2 separate regions of the Homo sapiens genome follow, and region 2 is linked to region 1. Evidence: promoter capture Hi-C in 16 types of primary human blood cells and fetal thymus (Javierre and others, 2016). All regions are on one chromosome and are shown on one strand. Each heading gives the region's core, a stretch centred on a gene start or on the middle of the fragment in contact. The rest is flanking DNA. Distances are from core to core; before and after follow the strand shown. Region 1 holds the start of SRSF12 (serine and arginine rich splicing factor 12). Region 2 holds the start of GABRR1 (gamma-aminobutyric acid type A receptor subunit rho1).

Evidence for each region. The method cuts DNA at HindIII sites, captures the fragments that hold promoters and counts their contacts. A CHiCAGO score of 5 or more calls a contact.
Region 2: a contact is called between a fragment that was not itself captured here and the fragment with the promoter of SRSF12 in region 1, in 1 of 17 cell types (M1 macrophages). The highest score is 5.5, in M1 macrophages.

Annotation. Positions count from the first base shown.
Region 1 is chr6:89,115,778-89,122,556 of GRCh38, forward strand. SRSF12 (serine and arginine rich splicing factor 12) reads right to left here and starts at 2,294. Exons shown (of 5, transcript NM_080743.5): 1 at 2,046-2,294. The coding sequence starts at 2,110. It also overlaps a transcript of PM20D2 not described here. RefSeq lists a silencer at 1,878-2,147. The HindIII fragment of the contact is 10,924 bases long and covers 1-3,754 here.
Region 2 is chr6:89,214,243-89,220,913 of GRCh38, forward strand. It overlaps GABRR1 (gamma-aminobutyric acid type A receptor subunit rho1), which reads right to left and starts at 3,116. Exons shown (of 10, transcript NM_002042.5): 1 at 2,959-3,116. The coding sequence starts at 3,080. The HindIII fragment of the contact is 697 bases long and covers 3,518-4,214 here.

The sequences.
Region 1 (6,779 bases), core at 1,044-3,543:
AGGCACCCGCCACCACGCCCGTCTAATTTTTTTATTTTTAGTAGAGACGGGGTTTCATCGTGCTAGCCAGGATGGTTTCCATCTCCTGACCTCGTGATCCGCCTGCCTCAGCCTCCCAAAGTGCTGTGATTACAGGCATGAGCCACCGCACCCGGCCACGAATGGGATTTTCATATGATTCAACTTAATGCATCTAAAGACTAAGATTACACATACAAAATCCAGATTTCTGATTTCTCTTTACAACTAGTAAGATATATCAACAATAAGTCCAGATGTCTACATGGCAGCTGTCAGCTGGAGCCTAGAGGCAGATGCTGCACCTTTTAGATGGCATATTTCCTTTTCTATTTGCTATTCTATTTCTATTTGATAGTCCACACCATCCTACTGTGCCTTATAGGCTGGCAGCTTCACTCGTTTATATTACCCCGGCTGGCCCCTGTGAACCATTAGAATTGGAAACCTCTGATTTTTCTACAGACACCCTGAAGAGGCTTGATGCTTATTCCATTTTCAAGTTGTCTGTTCAACTGCAAGGTTTTTTAATTCTGCCCAAATCATAAATTATGTTCGTGTTTTCTATGTAATATATTGATAAAAAGGCTGACAGAAGAAATGTAAACAAGGCACCTTTTAGATGTTAACTAAGATATATTAACCACAACATATAGTTGTGATACATGTACTTGCGGTGATCAAATAAAAAATACTTGGCCGGGCACGGTGGCTCATGCCTGTAATCTCAGCGCTTTGGGAGGCCGAGCTGGGCGGATCACTTGAGGTCAGGAGTTGGAGATCAGCCTGGCCAACATAATGAAACCTCATCTCTACTAAAAATATAAAAATTAGCCGGGTGTGGTGGCACACGCCTGTAATCCCATCTACTTTGGATGCTGAGGCAGGAGAATCGCTTGAACCCGGGAGGCAGAGGTTGCAGCCAACCAAGATCGGGCCATTGTACTCCAGCCTGGGGGACAAGAGCGAGACTTTGTCTAAAAAAAAAAAAAAAACTAAAAAATAAAAAATACTTAACGTTTATTTACTCCTCAAAGGTAAATTATAATACTCATCTCAGATGACTATGGAGTCAAGAGCTCCATGTATCTATACCTCTCTGGCCCCAGGTAAATCATTAAAACTCTTAGTTTCCGCTCTCCCTTATGTACAATAAAACAGTACTGCATAGGTAGAAAGGCTGGGGGGAAGTAAATGAAGCCCAGTGAAATGAGAATGTCTATTAACACCGTTCCCTCTCCCCCCGCCCCCAATTTCTTCAGCTCCATTAAGGAAGGAAGTGCTATATGAAAAAGTCATTCCTTAGTATCTGTGTTCAGACACTCTGTAGACAAAATTCTCAACGGAGGGGTGGGGCATCAGAATCAACCAGGTGAGCCTATACTCACGCCCTTAAAAAGGGTGTTAATACTGGACTCAGAACTTTAAAGAAAAACGCACTGATCTCATTCATTGAAGTTATTTTTTGTATGCAGAATAAAATTGTGTGAATAAAATGCAAGCAGCACCGTCTGTAAGTAGACCAGAACTGGGGGAAAGAAACTGTAAGGCCCGAGTACGCATTATGGTACAAAACGTTCTCACCAGCCCCAATTCCTCTCCATCTAGGAGGGTTGGATGCGCGCGATTTTATCGGGGCACGGCGACAAAGGAGCTGAAACGCGGGCACTCGCTGGAGCGCAAACCCTCCCGACTCCCGGCGGGGAGCGACCTGAGCTCGGGAGAGGGGCGCCCCGTGTCCCACGGCCCGCCGGCTGCGGTGCTGAACCGCGGAAAGCGACGCGGGCCCGGGACACGATGTGCGCGGCGCCGGGGCTGAAAGCTGGCCGGGAGGGCGGAGGCGCGAGTTCCGCCCTGGGCCGCGGAGTAGTCCGAGGGCTCACACCTCCCCAAGTGGCGCAGCCTGGGCCCGCGGGGAGGCTCCGCGCAGCTCCCCCGAGCCTCCGCCGGGCCTCGGCCGTGCTCCGCGGCGCGGCTGTTACCCCGCCCCTCCTCCGCGCCCCCAACCTGCAGCCGCGGCCGTTCACCTGGTGGCGTCCGCGACGTTCCTGATGAACAGGGAGGTGTTGGGGGGCCTCGTGTAGCGAGACATGACCGCTTCCTCCGTTCCCTCCGGGTCTGCCCGCGGCCGCTGGACTCGCTCCGTCTCCCGCTACCGCTGCTACCACCACAGGAGCTCCGCCGGCCCCCGGCGCGACCCCCACCCCTCGGCCTCAGCCCCGCCAGCGCGCAGCCGCAGAGGCCGGCGCAGAGGGGGCGCAGCGCGGCGCCAGCCTGGACGCACGGGCCGGGGGCGGGGGCGGCGCCGGCGCGGCCCAGGGGCCGCGGGAATTCCGAAGACAGGAGCGCGGCCGTTCCCAGGCCCTATGGGATCCGGGTATGGGGGGTCCTGGAGTGCGACGGGATTTGGGGAGGGGGCGGCGAGGGCCAGTGTATGTCAGGAGGGCGGAGGCCAAGAGGGGGCTTGAGGCCGCGGCGGGGACGCCGGGGGTTAGAGGACCCAGAGGTGGTGGCGGGGCTGCGGCTGGGCGGAGGTGGGGTCAGTGAGAGCCGCTTTCAACCGCGCCCCCGCTCAGCCTCCGCGGCCCTCAGCGCATCGTCCTGAGCGCAGGACCTTGGCAGTTGGTAGGCCTCCTGCCCCTCTGGTCTTGAGCCTTCGGCTTTCCAACTGTGAGGTCTCGGTTTTGTTCGGATTTGTTTTTTTAATAGAGACGGGGTCTCGCTGTGTTGCCCAGGTGGTCTCAAACTCCTGGGCTCAAGCCTCTCCCGCCTCGGCCTTCCAAAGTGCTGGGATTACAGGTGTGAGCCACCGCGCCTGGCCTGTTGGATTTTTAAGTATTATATGATTCTTCATCCTTTATTCACTTGGGGCATAACACTCAGCTGTGAGTACATTCATTCAGATGTTTATTGAGCGTCTACTATGCGCCAGGCACTTAGCGTGGGATATAGCAATGAACAAACAGGCCAAGCCCCGCCCTCTGAGCTTACATTCTAGAGGGGGGACAAACGAATGTACAAATGAATACATGATGTAGAAGACAACAGTTTAAATGCAGGGACAGTTAAGCAAAATTTAAATTACCCTCTCCCTATTCCCCCAAAATGTTGTAGCCCATCCCCTTCTAGTTAGACTCGTCTTCGCCTTGCTCCTGTGGCCGGCAGGCACAGCCTGTTATTCAGGGCTGGGAGTGTAACCAGGCAACTCCTAAGTGTGAAGAGTGCCCCTTTTCGCTCGCAGAAGTGGTAGGCTTTGAAGAATACATGTCGTGGTCACCCTTCTAGCTCACAGCCCTCCCAGAGGCTGTGGAGGTTCCTGGGTCTGCAGCTGTACTGGAACGGTGGCTATTCTTTCATTCAGAAGGGATTGCTCTGGCACTGCAGGCACAGGGCTAGACTGGCACCGTGCCTATTCCCCTAGAGCTTAGAATTTGGTAGGGAGGCAGAATCTAACAATCACACTGGTAAAGATACAAACTATAATACAGGGCTATGAAAAGAACTATATGCTGCTGAGAGCAGGCATTGTGGGATGGTGAGCAAGGCTAGAGGGTCACTTATGTTCCCTGAACAAGTCTTGAAGAGATGGGTAAAGAATGGAGAAGAGTAATTAGTGCAGTGGAACAGCACGTGCAAAGGCTTTGAGGCAATATAGTAAATGAGGCAAAACAGGAGCATGAGGCTGGAGAAGAGTTGGAAAATGAGGCTGGAGAGCAGGCTGGATTCATAATACAAAAGCTTAGAATGCTTACCATGTGTTAGTTGGCTAGGGCTGCCATGACAAAGCACCACAGATTTGGTGGCCCGAAACAACAGAAATTTATTCTCTTGTAGTTCAGAGGCCAGAAGTCTGAAATCCAGGTGTCCGCAGGGCCATCATCTATCTGAAGGCACTCTAGGGGAATCCTCTGTTTCTTCCAGTCTTTGGTGGCCCCACACATGTTTTGGCTGTGGATACATAGATCCAGTCTCCACTTCTGTCTTCACATGGCCTCCTGTCTTTCTCTCTCTCTTTCTCTGTCTCTCTCTCTTTTTATTTTAGATGGAGTCTATGTTGCCTAGGCTGATTTCAAACTCTTAGGCTCAAGTGATCCTCCTGCCTTGGCCTCCCAAAGTTGAGATTACAGGTGTGAGCCACTGTATTAGTCCGTTTTCACACTGCTGATAAAGACATACCCAAGACTGGGGAGGCCTCACAATCATGGTGTAGGGCAAAAGGCACATCTTACATGGTGGCAGACAGAGAATGAGAGCCAAGCGAAAGGGGTTTCCCCTTATAAAACCATCAGATCTCGTGAGACTTATTCACTACCAGGAGAACAGTATGGGGAACTGCCCCCATGATTCAGTTATCTCCCTCTAGGTCCCTCCCACAATACGTGGGAATTATGGGAGCTAACAATTCAAGATGAAATTTGGGTGGGGACAGAGCCAAATGATATCAGCCATCTATCCTATCCAGTTCTATCTCTTATAAGGACATTTGTCGTTGGATTTAGGGCCCACTTGGTTAATTCAGAATGATCTCATCTTGAAATCCTCACTTACATCTGCAAAGATTCTTTTTCCAGATAAGGATACATACCTGGAGATAGGACTTGGACATGTATTTTTGGGGGCCGCCATTCAAACCACTACATTGACTTTGCAAATAAAAAACTTGACCAAAGAAAAGAAACTTGACCTGGTGGGTAGTCACAATTACTCATCCCTGACATACTGTTAAGTGGAGAAAAATCAATTCATGAGACATGTAAACGATTAACCTATTTAGTTAAAAATATATTGGCCAGGCGTGGTGACTCATGCCTGTATCCTGGTGCTGTGGGAGGCCAAGTTGGGAAGATTGCTCCAAGCTAGAAGTTCGTGACCAGCTGGGCAACATAAGAGAATCTCCCCATCTCTACAGAAAATTAAAAAAAAAAAAATTAGCCAACCATGGTGGCACATGCTTGTAGTCCTAGCTGCTCAGGTGGCTGAGGCAAGAGGATTGCTTGAGCCCAGGAGTTGGAGGCTGCAGTGAACTATGTTTGTGCCAGTGCACTGCATTCCAGCATGAGTGACAGAGCAAGACCCTGTCTGTAAATAAATAAATAAATTTATCTGTATGTTCATGTATAAATAGAATTTTTCTATTCTATTTTTACCTATTCAGGTATAGGTATTATACTCTGATACTTGCTTTCTTCTTATCTTTTAGTATTGTCAGATTTTTTTAATGCTTTTTATAAATATAGAAAAAAACCACAAAGCTCTTTACAGTTTGAAAAAAGCTTTTGTAGGAGTATCCAAAAATACTTAGCATGCATGTATGGATAGGGGGTGTTTTTTCTGTTCCTTTTGATGGAAATACCTGAGGAAAGGGTCTTCAACTGTGTAAGGAGTTTCTCTTAGCAACTTGAACTTAAAAGGTAGCTGGAATTGATATAAAATAAGTTGTGGAGCCATAATTATTTATATTACATAAAAACGTATGTTCTTTTTTCCAGATATGATTTGAGGCAGCTAGTGTAAAGTGTAAGAAAGCTGTTTTCTGGTTGGAAGGCCTAAGGAGAGAACATCGTCGGGCACGGCCAACTAAGGAATGTTACAGTCAGCTTGGCCAGTGTCTTGCCCTGGTCCTTAAACCAGTTGAGATGAGTAACTGATGAAGCTGTATTTTGTCTTCCCTTTGGCAGATTAGGATACTTGAAGAGGTAGGGGAAAGGCTTAGGTCAAGAGTAAACACCCTGCCTGTCCCTGGACTCATAAACATATTCATATTTACCCTTTGTTCTAGAACTTAAGTGCCATTTAACAAAAGTATTGCTTTATTGAATCATTGCTTTAAGGCACCAAATGGTACCCTCCAGGCTTAGGAGAGTTAATGTTTTTCTTAAATTGCCTGAGGATTCCCAAGGAGTATACCACTGGCAAATCTGACAACTGTTCCCATAACAAAAGCCTCATTTTTACATGAGAGTTTCATATATTGTTCTTCGAAGTAACTGTTGCTTCCATTACTTTTTATTTAATACATTTAAAAAATTATGATCAATTAAATGCTTTTTAAGTTTTCACCTAAGAGAGACTTTGATTTGAAAATATTTTAGGAAAACCTGTGTCATATCTCATTTAGATATCATCACCTGACTTTTCAAAAGTAAATACATTTTAAACTTTTTCATTGGAATCACGGTTTTATAAAGTGTATTGCAAGAAAAATTCAGAATCTCTTTTCAGTTTTACAAGTCTTTAAAATTAGTAGTCTATGTTGTGTTTAAAATAGAGCCACATGTGAATCTATTTATAATGTTTGGTTGTTTACTCCTGAATCCTGTCTTTGGGGAAATTGCTGATATGACAATAACTTACTGTCATTTAGAATCTAAACACTTAGGACTTTCCTCTTATCTCTACCTACCTGCACATAGTCTGAGCTGACTATCTCTTACATTCTTTTTGTCTCTTAGAAACATCTATTCTGAATGGTACAGGAGAAGCACAAACCTCTCAATATCATCAGTAGATTTGTGGGAGAAGAGTTTGGGTTATTAGTAAAGTTCACAATTCAAGGCTGTCACTATTTCTTCCTAATTACCATGGATAATCAAGAAGTTGAGGCAGGTTTACAATGTTGAGCAATACATACGATATTTGTTATTCTAAAGCAATCTGATAGAGTATGTGGTTGAATAAGCTTTTCTTCCATTTCTTAAATGGCTCAGAATGGGCTAATTATCAGGTCTAATCAAGAAGTCAAATAGTAAAAGACTGATTAA
Region 2 (6,671 bases), core at 2,616-5,115, 100 kb after region 1:
ATCAACTCAAAATGGATTAAAGACTTAAGTGTAAGACCTGAAACTGTAAAACTGATAGAGGAAAATATAGGAGAAAAGTTACACAATATTGGTCTAGGCAGTGAATTTTTTGCATTTGACTCCAAAAGCTTGGGCAACAAAAGCAAATAGACAAATGAGATTACATCAAACTAAAAAGCTTCTGCACAGCAGAATAAATAACTAATGCAGTGAAGAGACAACCTGCAGATTGGAAGAAAATATTTGTAAGGCATACACATCTGATAAGGGGTTCATATCTAAAATATATAAGGAACTCAAACAACTCAATAGCAAGAAAACAAGTAACCTGATTAAAAATGGGTAAAGGACTTGAACAGACATTTTTCAAAACAAGACATACAAGTGGCCAACAGATATACGAAAAAATGCTCAACATCATTAGTCATTAGGGAAATGCAAATTTGAACCACAGTGAGATATCATCTCACACCAGTCGGAATGGCTATTATCAAAAAGATGGCCAAGCATGGTGGCTCATGCCTGTAATCCTGGCACTTTCGGAGGCCAAGGTGGGAGGATCACTTGAAGCCAGGAGCTCGAGACCAGCCTGGGCAACATAGTGAGACCCTGTCTATAGAAAAAAAAATTTTTTTAATTAGCCAGGCATGGTAGTGCACCTGTAGTCCCAGCTATTCAAGAAGCTGAGGTGGGAGGATCACTTGAAACCATTACAATCCAGTTTAGGTAACAGGGCAAGACTCTGTCTCTAAAACAAACGAACAAAAAACAAAACAAAATTAAAAAGATGAACAAGTACAAGCCTTGGCAAAGATGTGGAGAAAAGAAAACCCTTGTAACACCATTGGTGGGAATGTAAATTGGCACAGCCATTATGGAAAACTAGATGGAGGTTCCTCTAAAAACTAAAAACAGAATTACCGTATGATCCAGCAATCCCATGTCCAGGTATATATCCAAAGGACTTAAAAGCAGTTTGTTGAAGAGATACCTGCACTCTCATTTTCATTGCAGCATTATTCATAACAGTCAAGTTATAGAAACAACCTAAGTGTCCATCAATGGATGAATGGATAAAGAGAATGTGGTATACAATGGAATACTATTCAACCTTAGAAAAAGAAATTCTGTCATTTGCAACAGCACGCATAAACCTGGAGGACATTATGCTTAATGAAATAAGCCAAGCATCAAAGACAAATACCATATGATCTCACTTGTATGTGAAATCTAAAACAACAGAAATCATATTAACAGACAGCAGAATGATGGTTACCAGAGGCTGGGAGATTGAGGGTATGAGGAGATGTTGGCCAAGAAGTAGTTTCAGTTAGACAGGAGGAATAGTTTTTTGAGACATATTGCACAGCATGGTGACCACAGTTAAAAATAGTGTATTATATATTGCAAAAGTGCTGAGTAAATTTCAAATGTTCTCACCACAAAAAAACAGTAAATATTTGTGGTAATGGATACACTAATTAGACTTAATCATTCCACACTGTATGTATAGATCCTTACATCATTTTGTATGTACCCCATTAATATATACAATCATAATTTGTCACTTAAAATTTAAATGTTTTAAATAAATTATTTAAAAGAAAGTCTATTTCACTCTCTTAGACTTCTTAATCACCGATATTTGCAAATAGGTTGCCACTCTAACTCTGGCTTGGGAAAAGTTTTTGATGAAGACCAACAGAGTTTGTTGTCGTTGTTGTTGCTTTTAATCCCTATAAGCACATTTGGATCAAATAATCTCTACGGCTGCACCAATCCACAAGTTCCAGTGTTTGCCCAAGCAACTTCTGACTCTGATGGTAATAGGGCACAGTGGCCTCCCTTAGCACCCCAGGGCTCACCATGACCACTGGATATTTCAGCTCCTAGTTTTGTGATGTTGTTAAGAACAGCTTGAAACAAATGCTGTGAGCTACAGCTGGCTGTTTGGGAGCCCATGTGATGAGGGCTCCCTCCAGCCCCAGAAGGAGGACACTGAGGTGCTAGACACAGCCCTCCTCCTAACCCCAAACTCCCAAAAGCTAGATATCTTTTCATATTCACTGATCTCTCAGACTCTATTTATATTTACACTCAAAAGAAAGGTGAAGTTCAATTTGAAGCTAAGGCTAAGAAAGGACCAAGAATCAACAACGCCCTACTGTCTCCATTTCCTCATCAGTACAGAGAGCACTGGATTAGGTTGTCTCCAAGTCTCCTGTATTATTGACTGATGCCGGGCAAGCAGGTGTGCATCCCAGATAGACATTGCCAGTGCTGCCGTCAGAATGGCCCAGGTGAGGCCGAGTGCTAAGGGGCTGGTGGGGAACCTGGTTTCCTGTGTAAGCTCCCTCTGCAAGTGCTGGCAGACAGGGCACCATGCACCTTTGGTGTTGACCACAGGCAAGCACTTGCCTGCAGGAGGCTCCGTCCCTGGCCCTCCCAATTTATAGGTAGGGAACCATCTAATAATGATCCTTCTAGTCACACAGCTTGGAGAAAGCTGCTTTCTTTTAAAATATTAAAAAATGATTCACAAATCTAACAGAAATAATTAGAGCAGAATCATTCTCATGAAATACAGGTCCCATTGGTAATTTGAGAATTCACAGAGTTGTTCTAACCCTAGGACACAGACAGCAAACAATTGCCCTTGATATTTTTTTTAAATGTGCATATATTCTATTTTCCAGAATCTACCTTTCACCCAGGACAATTCATAAGGAATTTTAAAAATGCACTGATAAAATGATCTAATCTAGCATCATTTTAAAAGAAAACGTAATTCTAACTTTCTAAAAGGGGAGCAGCAGGAGAACAAAGGGAAGGGGAAGAAAAAGGCATCCACACAAAACACCATACGCTGGAAATGATGCTCAGTTTCTAGAAGAACACTGTAAGCTCACTTTGTGCATCCTCTTTTCCTAAATCCTCTATCCCTAAATGTCCACTCACCTGCCTTTCTTAGACATCTCGTGGACTTCTCTTCCGGGCCAGTGCATTCTGCTTTCAGTGGCCAAAACCCATCCCCACCACAAAAGAAAGATGCCAAATCTCATATTTGGGACAGCCAACATGGGTTTCCAAATTCAAACAGCTCTCTCCAGAAACAGCAAAAAGGAAAAGATTGTTCTTTTTCTCTCTTAAGACATTATTGGTCTGTTCATTATTAGAAGGATGTTTACTCATGCAAAAAAAAAATCAACCCACAGGATGCAATCTGGAGAGCAGGAGAAAGCAATTTCCACTAAACCTATAAATCCTCCTACGTCAGATGTCAGGGATTTTCTGAACTGAGGTTGAATTCCTGTGTCCCAGTGGAACAATTATTTTAGCCGGTCTAAATTAGTTCATCGTCAAATGCAGTAAAAATGTTGGTAAAAGTCTTATTTTCTGGTGCGTCGAATAAAAGGAAGTAAAAATGGACCAAAGCAATTTCCAAGAGGAGTAAGGCCAGAGGTGCGGAACTGCTTTCTATGTTCACGTTAATGAGCTCCTCCCTGGATCTATTTTAAGCTTACGGCCATTATTATTTGCTTTAGCTGAGGGCTGGATTTGGACAGCTTCCTGCCCCCACTTCCTGTGGCTGAATCCCTGAAACCCCAGGGCTCGGTACCTGCGTGGGCTGTCTATATGGCTGAGATTGGGAGGGCAACTGGGGAAGAGGTTTTTTTGTCTTTGTTTGGCGCAGAAACAAGTAAATTTCCTTGTCAGTTGCATTGTTCTTATCATGAACCTTGCTGCACTGTCCACATTTGAAAAATACCAGTAATAAATTAACTGTAGCCTCAAGTCTGTGTTATTTGTAGACAGTTTTTCTTTTGCTTTGATGCTTACTTTAAGACTCTGCTATAATCTACAGGCCGGATCTTGTGTCTTCATCAAAAGACAGTCTCAGAGCCTCGTGGAAGAGACCGCATTAGGTACTCCAAACTATTGACTCTTCAAAGCTGAGCTGACATGGTTTTGGTAACTTTCAGACTGTACCGGTAAACTGAGTCAGGATTCCCATAACTCTATAGCTGAAAAGCGGTTTCACACAACTGCTAACCCAAGATCCAATAGAATGAGAATTAATTACACAAGACTGAAAAAAAATTGATGAGAGAAATTTTTTTCGGGTTATTTGAAATGCAGTTGTTTTAAGGTTCTGTTCCCAGATCGTAAGAAGCCTTTTCTTTCTCTTCTTGTGCTATCTGTAATTCACAATAAGCTTTTAAATTCTGCTTTTATAAACCAGAATGAAGTATTCTTAAATTATATATGATTCTCACTAACACGATTCTTCTTATTTGAATTCAGAAACTCTTACCCAGTCTCTCTACATTTCTTGGCAATATAGTTGTTTGCATAGGTTTAGTAAGAATCTGTCCTCCCTTTTGCCAAAATACAACTGGAAGCATCAATTATGCAATGAAAGCCTTGCCTTGAATGCCCTATTTGAGAATAATGTTCATTTAACGAGGTGTGACAAGCCATTTTAAGGAATAAAGGTTGGCTGTACTTACGGAACCAATGCCTATAATGTCCTCTCAGGAAACCTGACGTAGGTCCAGTTTATAGTGTCCAGTCTTACAGTTAGTAAGGAAAGTCACTTCTAGGCAAGTACTTGGAGGTATTTTTCTGAAACCTCTAGAAGAAAGGAATTCACTCAAATCTATAGGTACTGCAGGTAAAATTTGGTGGAGTTTCTTGGGCTTGGTCTCCTAATCTTAGCAGGATAGAAAATAATAGACATGGCGGGGCACGGTGGCTCACGCCTGTAATCCCAGCACTTTGGGAGGCCAAGGTGGGAGGATCACCTGAGGTCAGGAGTTAGAGACCAGCCTGGCCAACATGGTGAAACCCTGTCCCTACTAAAAATACAAAAATTACCTCGGTGTGGTGGCGGGCACCTGTAATCTCAGCTACTTGGGAGGCTGAGACAGGAGAATCGCTTGAACCTGGGAGGTGGAAGTTGTAGTGAGCCGAGATCGCACCACTGCACTCCAACCTGGGCAATAAGGAATGAAACTCCGTCCCAAAAAAAGAAAAGAAAATAACAGACACTTTTAGAAGTCCAAGCTAAGATTCCTTATGATAACTTCTAGGCAGGAGCTAATTTGGAATCATTCAACACCGTATGGCTCTAGGTTTTGCAACGCAAACTTCAAAGGAGGCATCTATGATGCACTGTAGAAGTAACCAGCCAAACCTAAGGAGCCCAGCTTTTTTCTGTGATCAAGAATAATCTTTAGAATTATATATAATAACAAGGAGAAGGAAGATGGTCAGGAAAAATCGTCAAACTTTGAAATGAGCAAAATAGATTACTGGGTGTTCTTTCAATAGAATTCTAAGCCTTGTCCAGCGGGTCCTCCAGGGATTGTCTGATCCTATAGGGATGTATGACTTTGATTGTCTTTAGGCTATTTTACAATTCTGTAATAGTAGATGTTAACACGTAGCAAACTGATAGTAACGCATAGCTTTCCTGTCCATAGCTATGCAAATTATTCCTTTTGTGCTGTGGAGAGTATAAATCTCTATAAATCAAGCCCTTATTTGAACCAGTTGTAACATCTTACTGGTCCCTTAACTAAATAATGAGTTAAATAAAATCTTCAATGTCTGTTCATTTTATAGTTATGTGAGAGTCATGATTATATCCTCTTATATAAATCATCCTTTAACGTGCTTTCAATTAATAGATGTCAAAAACATTCAACATATAGAAATAAAGGCAGAATATGTGATGTCTCCCGAGGTCAATGTAAGCTAAGCATGGTTGGATACTTAAGTTGTAGTGACTTGCTGATTTAAAGACCAAATTGTCTAAAGGGAGATATTCTGGAGCTGAGTACATCAAAATGAACAGGACAATAAGGCATTAAATTGGGGAGGTAGAAAGGACATTAAATGGCTCCTAATGCCCAGATTGGAAAATACCTTTCTTTCTTGTTTAGAGGATCCTGGACTAGCTCCAGGGGCCAGGAGCCTGGGCATAACCAAAGAGAGCAAACCGGAAGGCCTCAAACACGCATTTCCTACCCTCTCTTAGCTAAGGAGAGCTGGTTCAGCAGGTCCCCAGTTAGTTTGATGGCAGGACAGGCGGTACCAGCTGCTGAGCCTTTGCAACAAGGCCACTTCCTCCATCCAGAAGTTCCTATGGCAGAACCTTGAGGGGAGGGGCCCTGTCTTAGAGCCCTTTCTGCTTTGGGCTTGAGCCAACCATGCATCCCTCTTACTGCTGTCATGAGAACTTAGAAAGTCATGGCATTTCACTACTTTGTTGCTTGTAAATGTTCTTAATCAACTTTATTTCCCACTAACACCACGTGGCTCTAATGCGGAGAGTATCTGTGCCCTCTTTATAGGACAAGGATGTAGAAGGGAGTTGTAAAGAGGCCTGAGAGAACCAGTTAGGGCCAGCATCAGAGCATATTAAGGATCCAGACTGACTTACTGAACTATAACACTTCCAGACCAAGTTTTAAAAATGCTTTTTTTTTTGAGACGGAGTTTCGTTCTTGTTGCCCAGGCTGGAGTGCAATGGCATGATCTCAGCTCACCACAACCTCTGCCTCCCAGGTTCAAGTGATTCTCCTGCCTCAGCCTCCCGAGTAGCTGGGATTACACGCATTCGCCACTACACCCAGCTAATTTTGTATTTTTAGTAGAGACGGGGT